Linked DNA regions of Homo sapiens: regions 1, 2 and 3 are each linked to region 4. The links are contacts of gene promoters, found by promoter capture Hi-C in blood cells and fetal thymus (Javierre and others, 2016). All regions are on one chromosome and are shown on one strand. The core of a region is centred on a gene start or on the middle of the fragment in contact, and the rest is flanking DNA. Distances in the headings are between cores, read along the strand shown. Region 1 has its middle 4.7 kb from the start of KRTAP5-6. Region 2 has its middle 4.9 kb from the start of FAM99B. Region 3 has its middle 25 kb from the start of IFITM10. Region 4 holds the start of TNNT3 (troponin T3, fast skeletal type).

Region 1 (2,700 bases), core at 161-2,660, 220 kb before region 4:
GACAACCAGAGAGCCCAGCCTTTAATGTGAGCTCCCTAGCAGTCAGAGCAAAAAGGGAAAGAGGGGACACATAGGCTTCATCACCTGGAGGAGGGAGCAGCACAGTTTACAGCAGAAATACGCTCTGTCACGTTTCAGAGTGAAGAGTCAGTTGGGGTGACAGCTGTGGAATAGAGGTGCCCCTCAGGGAAGAGGGTCCCTCGCTGCTGTTGCCACATTGTATTAAAATAAAACTATAAAAAAGTGGACAAGGTATCCATGTAGAACTCAATAAGTTTCCACAAAAGCTGAACACCTTCCTAGAACTGGCCCTCAGAACAAGAAATAGAACATTCCGGCACCCCAGAAGCACCCATTTCTAATTGCTACCCACTCCCCACCAAGAGTAACCATGAGCTTGAATTATCCCATCAGACACCAGTTTTGTCTGTTACTGGACTTCATAAAACGCCATCGTAGGCCGTGTCCTCTCATGGCCAGCTCCTTTGGCCCCAGACTATGTTGGCGAGGTTCATCCACTGTGTTGCATGGAATTTGCCCCGTTCGCGGCTGTTGCTGGGTCCTGAATTGTAAGAGTGCAGCGCAGCATGCACACGCACTCAGAGGATTTGGTTTTAAGAGCTGCGTGGGAGGGTGCAATGCAGAAGACAAGTCTTTGTTCTGCACAGTGGGTGGTTGGAGCTCAGAGCTGCTGCCCAAAGCAGAGATCCCGGAAGGGACTGTGCCCTCTGATGGGGGTGGCTAGAAGGCAACCCAGCCGCTGCCAGAAGGAAGGGACTGTGCCCTCTCATGGGGGCAGCTAGAAGGCAACCCAGCCACTGCCAGAAGGAGACAGCAGAGAAATACGTTTGCTGAGTCTGAGATGGGTGATAAAAACATTTCCTTTGAGAAGTGACAACTTCAGGCCCACCATTATCCAGGTGGGAGGCACACATTGGCATCAGTTTTGTGGTCCAGAAAACCACAAGCTGAGCAAGTCACTTAAAGTGGTCCTGAATTGATAGGACCCAGAGCAGCCCGGTGGAAGGAAGTGCAGCAAAACTTCAGACAAAGTCTGTGTCCTCAGCCAAGGCCCTGAGCTCCCCACCTACAGCCGAGGCAAACATGAGCTCACAGCAGAAAACCACAAGCACACAAGGAAAGCAGCCACCGTGGGCAAGAGCCAGCACCCGCAGTCAGAGACACATGGAGACACCAAGGGCCATGAATGAGGACATGAGGAGATAAAATACCAGCTAAATATTTAAAACAATGGGCTCACCCACTGTCTTGGGACCACGAAGGCTCTTCTGAGAGAGAAAGTTTCCTATCCTCAGAGTTTTAGGTGAACATATGGGTAAATCTAATGGGTTATTCTCTTCAAAATGTGTTTGATGTTGTAAACAAAAATCACACCATTCTCTGGTGGGGTTTTCAAAATGAGTATTTGTCATTTATGAGACAAGTGGTCTCTATTGCGGGAAGATTCCTGGATTCCACCTAAATTAGTGAAATATCGATTCTAAGTACACAGTGCAAAAGTAAGCAATATACCCGTACTCTAGAACAACCATTAAAAAGATATAAACAAAGAATATAGTCAAGCTGGTTCTTTGAAAAGATCAACATATTTTTTAAATTTTAGCAAGACTGGCAAGATGAAAAAGAAAGAAGATGCAAATTACCAATATCAGGAATGAGAAAAGGGATATCACTTCGGGTCCCACGGACATTAAAAGGATAATGCAGGAATACTGCACGCCGCATACATTTGGAAACTAAGAGGAAAGGGACCAATTGCTCGAAAGACATGAACCACCAAACTCAAGAAGGAAGAGGGAGCCTGAATATCTCTATCAAGAAACAGAATTTGTAGTTAAAAGCCTTCCCACACAAAAAAACCCTTCAAGGCCAGATGGTTTCATTGGTTAATTCTACATAACCTTCAAGGAACAAATAATCTGAAAGCAAGCAGGAAAAAATATATAAATTTATGGATAAGTGTGTATGTATGCATATAAAATTAGAAATCAATGCAATAGAAAATAGCAAAACAACGGAGAAAATTTATTCAACCAGCCAGGCGTGGTGATTCACGCCTATAATCCCAGCACTTCGGGAGGCCGAGGTGGGTGGATCACTTGAGGTCAGGTGTTCGAGACCAGCCTGGCCAACACGGCAAAACCCCATCTCCACTAAAAGTACAAAAATTAGCCTGACGTGGTGGCCCATGATTGTAATGTAAGCTACTTGGGAGGCTGAGGCAGGAGAATAGCTGAACCCAGGAGGCAGAGGTTGCAGAGAACTGAGCTGAGATCGTGCCACCACACTCCAGCCCGGGCAACAGAGTGAAATTCCATCTCAAAAAAATAAAAAAAATAAAACAAGAAAATTAATTAAACCAAAATCTGGTTCTTTGAAAAGATCAATAAAGATCAATAAATAAAGATCAAAAAAGATAAGCCTGTAGCAAGACAGACAAGAAAAAAGAGCAGACACACATGACCGAGGTGTGTGTGGGATATCACCATGTTGGCCAGGCTGGTCTCAAACTCCTGACCTCAGGTGATCCACCTGCCTTGGCCTCCCAAAGTGCTGGGATTACAGGAGTGAGCGTGCCCGGCCCAAAACTGTTCTATATGATACTGTGATGGTGAATAAATGGCATTCCACGTTCATCATTTGTGTTGTAGAACGTACAACATGAAGAGTGGAGGTGAA
Region 2 (2,700 bases), core at 15-2,514, 240 kb before region 4:
AGCTCGGCATGGTGGCTCATGCCTATAATCCCAACTGCTTGGGAGGCTGAGGCAGGGGAATCACTTGAACCCAGGAGGCGGAGGTTGCAATGTGCCAAGATTACACCATTGCACTCCAGCCTGGGCAATGAGAGTGAAACCCCATCTCAAAAAAAAAAAAAAAAAAAGCCTCCTACCCATAAGATGTAAATAAATGGAGAGATATAACAGGCTTCTTGATTGAGAACACTTACAACTTCAGGTCTCTAAAAATCAACCTATGGATTTAATTATATTCCAATTAAAATAAATAATTACTTTTATCTTGCCAAGTTTTCTCTAAAATTCTCATCAAAATGTATAGGCAAGTGTAGCCATTAAATTTTGGGGGGATGTCTTTATAATTTTTTTAAATTTTTATAGCCATTAAAAATTTAAAAGCAAAATATAAAGGAAGAAGAATGAGTGGTGATTTCCCAGACAGCTATCAGAACAGACTATAAAGCTACAGTTATTAAAACAGCACTGCCTTGCTTCTGGATTACATAAATTGAAGGAGGAAGTGGAGCCGGGCCCTGGCAGCCTTCTCAGTGTAACTCAGGACCCCGTGGACGGGGTGTCTGAGCCAGCAGGAAGAGACAGGGCCTGCTGCAGAGGACGTAACAACAGAACCACGCACCTGCAGCAAGGCAGTCCCATCTCCGTCTCAGCTGAGACACAGAGCAACCACCCAGCTAGGCAGTCCCATCTCAGCTGGAGCACATCCACGAGGAATCCAAATGCACACAAAAAAATAAAAGTACAAAATTCCTGGAAGGACATGTGGGGAATGTATTCCCGATATTGGGGGGGCCTTAAAGCATGGCGCGAAACACAAGCATTGTTAACGGAGTGTCTGGGAGATTTCACTGTTTCAAAAGGAAACACTTCTTTATTGAAAATCACAGTAAAAAAATGACATAGTACAGATTCAGAGAAAATGTTTCTTACAAATATAACAATAAAAATTAATATCTCTGATATCCAAATTGATTATACAAATCAATAGCAGCTCAGTAGAAAAATGGACTAAACGTATGAATATTAATTCTCACACTTTTTATGGAATAATGTTTAGAAAAAGAAAAACTTTAAAATTCACAGAGGGGCTAAGTTTTAGGGAATAGTTTTGAGTGTCATCTATATAGTTTTTCTCAATAAATATATTAATGTAGTAAATTACATTGAGTGCTTTTATATTTTAATTTAGTTTTTCCTAAATTGATCTAGATAGATTTTTTATCAAAAATACCAGGAATACATATTAATCAACACACCAAAATATCAAAAATATTTTTTATTAGATAAATTGATTCTAAAATGTGTACAAAGGGGCAAAGGAACTAGAATAGCTAAATGATAAAAGAAGAAGAAAGGAAGAATCGTGCCCCTCAATGTTAAGAGTTACTCAAAAGCTCCCGTAATCAAGAGTGTCACCGTGGGTGTGGGCACAGCAGCTCATGCATGTAATCCTAGCACTTTGGGAGCCTGAGGAAGGAGGATCTCTTGAGGCTAGAGTTCTAGACCTGCCTGGGCTACATAGTGAGACCTCATCTCTAAAATTAAAAAAAAAAAAATTAATTAAAATTAAAAAAATAGAAAATTGAAAAAGAGAGTGTCACCCCAGGGAAGAGAGAGAGTGGAGGTAAAGGGGCGTGCAGACCCCCAGGATCACGGCCACCTGGCCTCCCACAAGGGACCAAGAGCCGTCAATGCCAGAAGAGCCGCTTTCCCAACAAGCCATGCTAGAGCAGACTCATGGGTTCAAAAATGGCCGTAGACCTACACGTTCATATGAAAATTAACTCAAACTGGGGCTGGGCACAGTGGCTCATGCCTGTAATCCCAGCACTTTGGGAGGCCGAGGCTGGCAGATCACTTGAGATCGGGAGTTCGAAACCAGCCTGGCCAACATGGTGAAACCCTGTCTCTATGAAAAATACAAAAATTAGCTGGGCGTGGTGGCAGGCACCTGTAATCCCAGCTACTTGGGAGGCTGAGGCAGGAGAATCGCTTGAACCCAGGAGGCAGAGGTTGCAGTGAGCCAAGATCATGCCACTGCACTCCAGTCTGGGCAACAGAGAGAGACTCGTCTCGAAATAAATAAATACATTAATAAACAAAAATTATCCAGGCGTGGTGGCAGGCACCTGTAATCCCAGCTACTTGGGAGGCTGAGACATGAGAATCATTTAAACCTGGGGGTTGGAGGTCGCAGTGAGCCAAGATCACGCCACTGAACTCCAGCCTGGGAGACAGAGTAAGACTCCGTCCCCCCCCAAAAAAAAAAAAAAAGTAAAAATAAAGGAAATTAACTCAAATTGGATCAAAAACAATAACACTTTTAGAATAGAAGAAAGTGTCCAGGACCTGGGGCTTGGCAAGGACTTCCTAGATATAACATCAAAAGCATGATTCATATATATTTTAAATCAATGAATTAGATCTCATTGAAATTAAAAACTTTTATGCCGTGAAAGATCCTGTTAGGATGGATGAAAAGATAAGCTGTGGGCTGGGAGAAAATGTTTGCAAAACCCATGTCTGACAAAGGACTCGTATCTAGAATATAAGAAGAACTCTCAAAACTCAACGGAACAGGGCCAAATAATCCAATGAAAGAAGGATCATGGAGACAAGGTGGAGATGGCAGATGAAGTCACAAAACGGCCTTCAACCCGC
Region 3 (2,735 bases), core at 75-2,574, 190 kb before region 4:
GAAATATGATATAGCTTACAAACATTACCCAAAAGAAAGCAGAGGTAGTTAAATAAACATCAGAAAGGAAGTAGACTTAATAAAAGAAATATTGCTACCAATAAAATGAATCACTTGATAATTTCAAAAAGATCAATCAAAAAGACACGACAATTCTAAACTTCCATTCATCTGATAGCGTTGCTTAAAATACGCAAAAGCAAAGCTTGACAGTGGCAAGGAGACATAGACAAATCTACAATCAGAGTTGGAGGCCGTAATGCACGTCTCTCAGCAACTGATAGGACAATTAGACTGAAAATGAAATCAGTAAGGCAGGAGAAGATTTCAACAACATAATTAACCACTGGAAATAATTAAAATTTACAGCCAATAACTGGAAAATAAACATCTTTTCAAGTGCACATAGACACAGTTACAGGAACAGACCAAAATCTGCTTCAAAAAGAAGCCTCATGCATTGTTAAAGTATTGAAATGATCTAGGGAATGTTCCCTGACAATAGTAAAAATAAAGCCAGATACTGAGAACAGAAGGATAACTACAGGCCGGGCGTGGTGGCTCACGCCTTTAATCCCAGCACTTTGGGAGGCCGAGGCGGGCAGATGACCTGAGGCCAGGAGTTTGAGACCAGCCTGGCCAACATGGTCTCTACTAAAAATGCAAAAAATTAGCTGGGCGTAGTGGTGGGTGCCTGTAGTCCTACCTACTCGGGACGCTGAGGCAGGAGAATCGCTTGAACCTGGAAGGCGGAAGTCGCAGTGAGCTGAGATTGCGCCACTGCACTCCAGTGGGGGCGAGTGTAGAGCGAAACTCTGTCTCAAAGAAAAAAACAATAATAATCACTATAAAAATCTGAATGTCTGCCGGGCACGGTGGCTCACGTCTGTAATCCCAGCACTTTGGGAGGCCGAGGTGGGCAGATCACGAGATCAGGAGATCGAGACCATCCTGGCTAACACGGTGAAACCCCGTCTCTACTAAAAATACAAAACAATTAGCCGGGCGAGGTGACAGGCGCCTGTAGTCCCAGCTACTCGGGAGGCTGAGGCAGGAGAATGGTGTGAACCCGGGAGGCGGAGCTTGCAGTGAGCCGAGATGGTGGTGCCACTGCACTCCAGCCTGGGTGACAGAGCGAGGCTCCGTCTCAGAAAAAAAAAAATCTGAATGTCTGCAAATTAACCAAGTGTCTATGTAATCAAGGATTCAAAAAAGAAATCAGGATAGAACTCAGAAACTATATTGAAACAAATGATAATAAAACATATATAATATCAAAACTTGTAGGATATTTATGGATTTAAATTAATTCATTATATTATGAAAAAAGAAAGTTAAAAAGAATTATTCACCAAAGAGGCTGGAGGGAAAAACAGCAATTTAAACCCAAAGAAATTACAAGAAAGGGAATAATAAAGTTAGGAACAAAAATTAATGAAATGAAAAGCAGACACACAATGGAAAGACCCACAGGCAAACTTTTCTTTTTTAAATAAGTATATTGATAATTATCTACAAGACTGACCAAGAATAAAGAGAATCAAAAGTTGTCAAGAGTATGAAATAGGATGATCAGAAATGAAAATGTGGGTACAGACATCCAAAATGGAATAAAAATATACTATGAACAACTTTATGTCAATACATCTGGCAGCTTCAATGAAATGGAAAAATTCCTTGAAAAACATTACCAGTTATGAAGACTTAATACAGATAGTATTCCCACAGGAATGGAGACAGTCTGATGCTGCTGTAAAGTCAGATAAATAGACCAGTGGGACAGACTGAAGTCCAGAAACACATGCACCACGTCTCTACGGCCACCCAACAAACCACTGAGGGCCCCTGCAACTTAGTGGGGGAAAGATGGTCTTCTCCATGAGGGACATGGCAGCACTGGGACGTCTCTATGGGAAGAATAAAAATACTAACATTGCCCCGGAGTTGGTTCAGGTTCTCCGGCAGCAGAACCAGAAGTGAGAAGATCTCCATGTCTGTAATTTACTGGGGACATGCTCCTAGGAAAATGGGGGAAGGGAAGTAAGATTTCAGGAGAGTGGGGGTTTCTGTGCAGGCCCAGCTTCTGCCTAATCAATGGCAACTCTTGATCATAGATCATAAGTTTATCTTGATGCAGACAGGGGAGCTTGGCTTTGGGGCTCCAGCCGGAAACAGCAGTGACTAAAGACTGTGAAAGGGATATGAAGTCCAGATACAGGGTCTTCCCAAGTACCATCTCAGTCGTGGACTCTTGGAGACAGATGCACACTGAGGCTGGGGGTGGGGCACAGAGGAACAGTGGTATGACCCAAGCAGACCTGGGTGGAGGACCTACAGTGTCCTCAGCTCCCCCGACCTCCCACCTCACATCATACACAAAAATTCATCCAAGGTGGAGCACAGACCTAGATCCAAAAGGCAGAACAATAAAGCTATTAAGAGAAAAGCTTCATGACCCTGAAGTGAGTAAAAAAAAAATAAAGAAAAAAGAAATTAAAAATTAACAGGACATGAAAAACATCAGTCATACAAGATAAAAATTATAAATGGAATTTAATAAAAAATAACTTAGTTATCAGAATATAACATTAAGACAGTGAAAAGACAAACTGCAGAGTGAGAGTGTGCCTAATTACATTTGTCTGGAATGGTTCCTCAATCTTTCCTTGACGTTCATGACCTCGACACTTCTGATTATAGGCCAGATCTATTCTCACGATCCCTCAGTTTGGGTC
Region 4 (2,884 bases), core at 266-2,765:
AGGGAGGGGAAGGCGTGGAATGCAGACGAAGCCACAGACCCAGAGCAGGAGGACGGCGACGTTCCCAGCAACCCCAGCTCCAAGAGCCTTCCCAGTGCCGGGCACTCAGCGGGAGGCAGGCAGGGGACCGGCCCTGTCCTTTGAAATGGCAGCCTGGGGCCAGCCCGCCTTGTCGTGTGACCCCAGGCACACCTTGCCTGTCCCTGGGCTCTGCGGCCTCGCTCTTCCATGGAGGGGTGGAATGAGGTGCCAACCACAGCCTTCCGGAAGGCCCCCGACCCGGCCCCAGGGCACTGTGAGCCCCTGCCGGGTTATCCTGTTGTCCCTGACTCTAAGCCTGGGGAGGACAGGGACCTCATCTGTGCCTCTCGGGACTCACCCCTGTCCTGGGCGCTGGCCAAGAAGGAACCAATCTGTGCCTGAACCGAAGAGTTCCGCAGACACCACCGCCCACGCTCAGCCTGTGGGGTCTGAGGGGAGTGAGGGGGTGGGTCAGGGTGCCAGACTGCTCTCCCCCACCTGGTGCCTCAGTTTCCCTGATCCAAGAGGCAGGGTTATCCAATCTGGTGGCCTCACTGGCCAGCATACAGGCCATCAGAGGCCAGGAAGGATGTCTGCTAGTCGGACGGTGCCACCTGGAGTCCTGAGGAAAGAAAACCAGTCTCCACACGCCACAATGAGCCTGTGGGAGATGCTGGCACAGATGGTAACGGCCACTGCGAGTGCCCAGGGTGGGGCCCCAGGGTTAGAAAGGGCCTAGAGGGAGGACCCAGACCCTTACCCAGCAAACTCCATGTGTAGCCCCCTGCAATGGCAGCAGCCCCGGGGGGAGGTATGGCAGACTCGGACTGCAGCCAGCCTGGCCATGTCCCTCGCCCGCTTATTGTGTAGGCCCCAACGGTGTCTAGCCAGGAAAGCAGAGCTGGCCTCTAAGAGGGTCTCAGATAGGGTGGGGGCCTGGCCTCAGTTCCATGGGGGGTCTCCGAGGCCTCAGGCTGCTTCCTCCCCGGGGGAGACAGCGAAGGGCCTGGGGCATTGGGCCGGGCGGCGGGAGGGGACCCCGGCTGTGCGGACCCTTTTCCTGGACAAATGTTTACTCCCACAGAACATCTCAGAGAGAAGGGGCGGGGGGGTGGGAAACCCGGCAGCCTGGCTCTGGGGACCCCCACACTAGTTTGGCCCAAAGAGAGCCTCGGCTTGGTGCCCCGGGGCCACCCAACACCTTCCTCCTCCCTCCTCAGCCCATCCAGAATGTACCCGCTGCTGGGAGTAAAAATAGCAGCTGACACCTCCTGGAGGCGGAGGGAGGACCTTGCCTCCTTCTCCAAGCACGTCCTCTGCATCCTGGCCTCCTTCAGCCTCCTCCTCTGGCCATTCCTATACTTGGTAAGGGGCCTGCACGGGCATAGCCCCCCCCAGCAAGACTCCGCACACACCCCGGCCACCCAGTCACTGGCCAATGGGCTCCTAGGAAGATCAAATGTCACTATAACACGAGGGTGTGAGCCGGGCGCCAGTGCCTGCAGCCGGTGCTGTCCACAGGGAGCTCCAGCCCTTCTCACACTCGACCCGCAGGTGGGTATAGGCAGGAGCGGCCACCCAGGACTGGGGCCGACGGGGCCTCCTGCGTGCGGGTGGACAGCCCCTCGTTCCAGGGACACTCTGGGGTCCTGGGGCGCTGAGGTCCCAGGTCCGTGTGGTGCCGAGCATCTCGAAGCATCATGGCTCGGAGCCCCCAGGTGGCTGCTCCAGCGTCCGGAGAGTCTGGGATGCGGACATGGTGGTGTGATGGTCTCAGCACCGGGAGGATGCAGAAGAAGGCAGAGTGTGGGAGGCCAGGAGGGGGCAAGTCGGGGCTCAGGGAAGCTCAGTGCTAGGGAGTGGCCTGAGGGCAGGAGGCAGAGAGGTGCGGGCTGTGAGCGGCAGGGAAGAGGCTGTGCAGGGGTGCTGCCAGGGCTTAGGTTGCCAGCTTGTGGTCGCCATGCAGACATTTGCCCAGGCCCGTCCTGGCCTTGCCATGCAGCTCTCGCACCTGGGCCTCCAACACCGCCATTTTGTAGAGATGAAAACGAGGACAGGAGGGCAGGGGCTCCTGTATGGCCAGCCCGAGTGTGTTGGGGTGGGGGCGTCTAAAGCCCACGCAGCCTTGGGGGCCAGCGTCTGGAGGTGCAGGACAGAAGTGGACAGGGGCTGGACTGGGGCAGGACGGGGCAAGAGTGAGGGGCTGGGCTTCATCGCGTCCCCCTGGCTGGAGGCTGGAGAAGCTGGCGCTCGTAAGAGCCCCCACCCACCCTCCCTGCCCTGGACACGGTCCCCCTGACTTGTGCCGTCTGATCAGGCCTTGGCTGCCCCTCCTGAAGTCCACGGAGGGACATGGGGCAAAGCAAAGGTTGGCTGGGTGGAGAACAGGTCTGGGGGCATGGTCAGGGCCACAGCAAGCAAGGGGCAGCGGCTTTTGCCTCCCCACCCTGCCCTGGCCCCGTCACCTCCCAAGGAGGGAAAGGTGATGCATACGTGCCCGAAGAAACTGACCGCATAGGTTATTTTCACGCAGCCCCTCCAAGGCAGGCACTAACTGGACACCTGCTTTGCGTCTCAGCTGTTGAAATGCCATCCCCTGCCCCCAGCACACCCCTGCCCCCAGCACACCCCTGCCACCAGCCCCTCCCCGCAACAGAGGCAATGACACAGGCCATACTGGGGGGAACAGAACAGCCTTGTGTTGCTTCCAGGCGCTCAGCAGAAAACCAGGTGCCTCAGTTTCCCCACTTGGAGAGTGGGCCTTTCCAGCGCACGTCGGGGGGCCTGGAGGTCACCCTGCCTGAGGGTGTTGGGGCACCCATGTGACTCTGGCCTGGGGGGACAGGAGGGAAATATGAGGAGC

What was found. Contacts are between HindIII fragments. The CHiCAGO score rates a contact against its expected background, and 5 or more counts as called.
Region 1: a contact is called between a fragment that was not itself captured here and the fragment with the promoter of TNNT3 in region 4, in 4 of 17 cell types (neutrophils, monocytes, total CD8 T cells and 1 more). The highest score is 8.3, in neutrophils.
Region 2: a contact is called between a fragment that was not itself captured here and the fragment with the promoter of TNNT3 in region 4, in 2 of 17 cell types (monocytes and neutrophils). The highest score is 6.1, in monocytes.
Region 3: a contact is called between a fragment that was not itself captured here and the fragment with the promoter of TNNT3 in region 4, in 1 of 17 cell types (monocytes). The highest score is 7.3, in monocytes.

The regions. Positions count from the first base shown.
Region 1 is chr11:1,700,538-1,703,237 of GRCh38, forward strand. No RefSeq gene overlaps it. Among named protein-coding and RNA genes, the nearest start is that of KRTAP5-6, 4.7 kb to the left of the region's middle. The HindIII fragment of the contact is 6,583 bases long and covers 1-2,700 here.
Region 2 is chr11:1,679,427-1,682,126 of GRCh38, forward strand. No RefSeq gene overlaps it. Among named protein-coding and RNA genes, the nearest start is that of FAM99B, 4.9 kb to the right of the region's middle. The HindIII fragment of the contact is 3,513 bases long and covers 1-2,700 here.
Region 3 is chr11:1,724,524-1,727,258 of GRCh38, forward strand. No RefSeq gene overlaps it. Among named protein-coding and RNA genes, the nearest start is that of IFITM10, 25 kb to the right of the region's middle. The HindIII fragment of the contact is 2,242 bases long and covers 204-2,445 here.
Region 4 is chr11:1,918,188-1,921,071 of GRCh38, forward strand. It overlaps TNNT3 (troponin T3, fast skeletal type), which reads left to right and starts at 1,516. Exons shown (of 16, transcript NM_006757.4): 1 at 1,516-1,575. The HindIII fragment of the contact is 31,744 bases long and covers 1-2,884 here.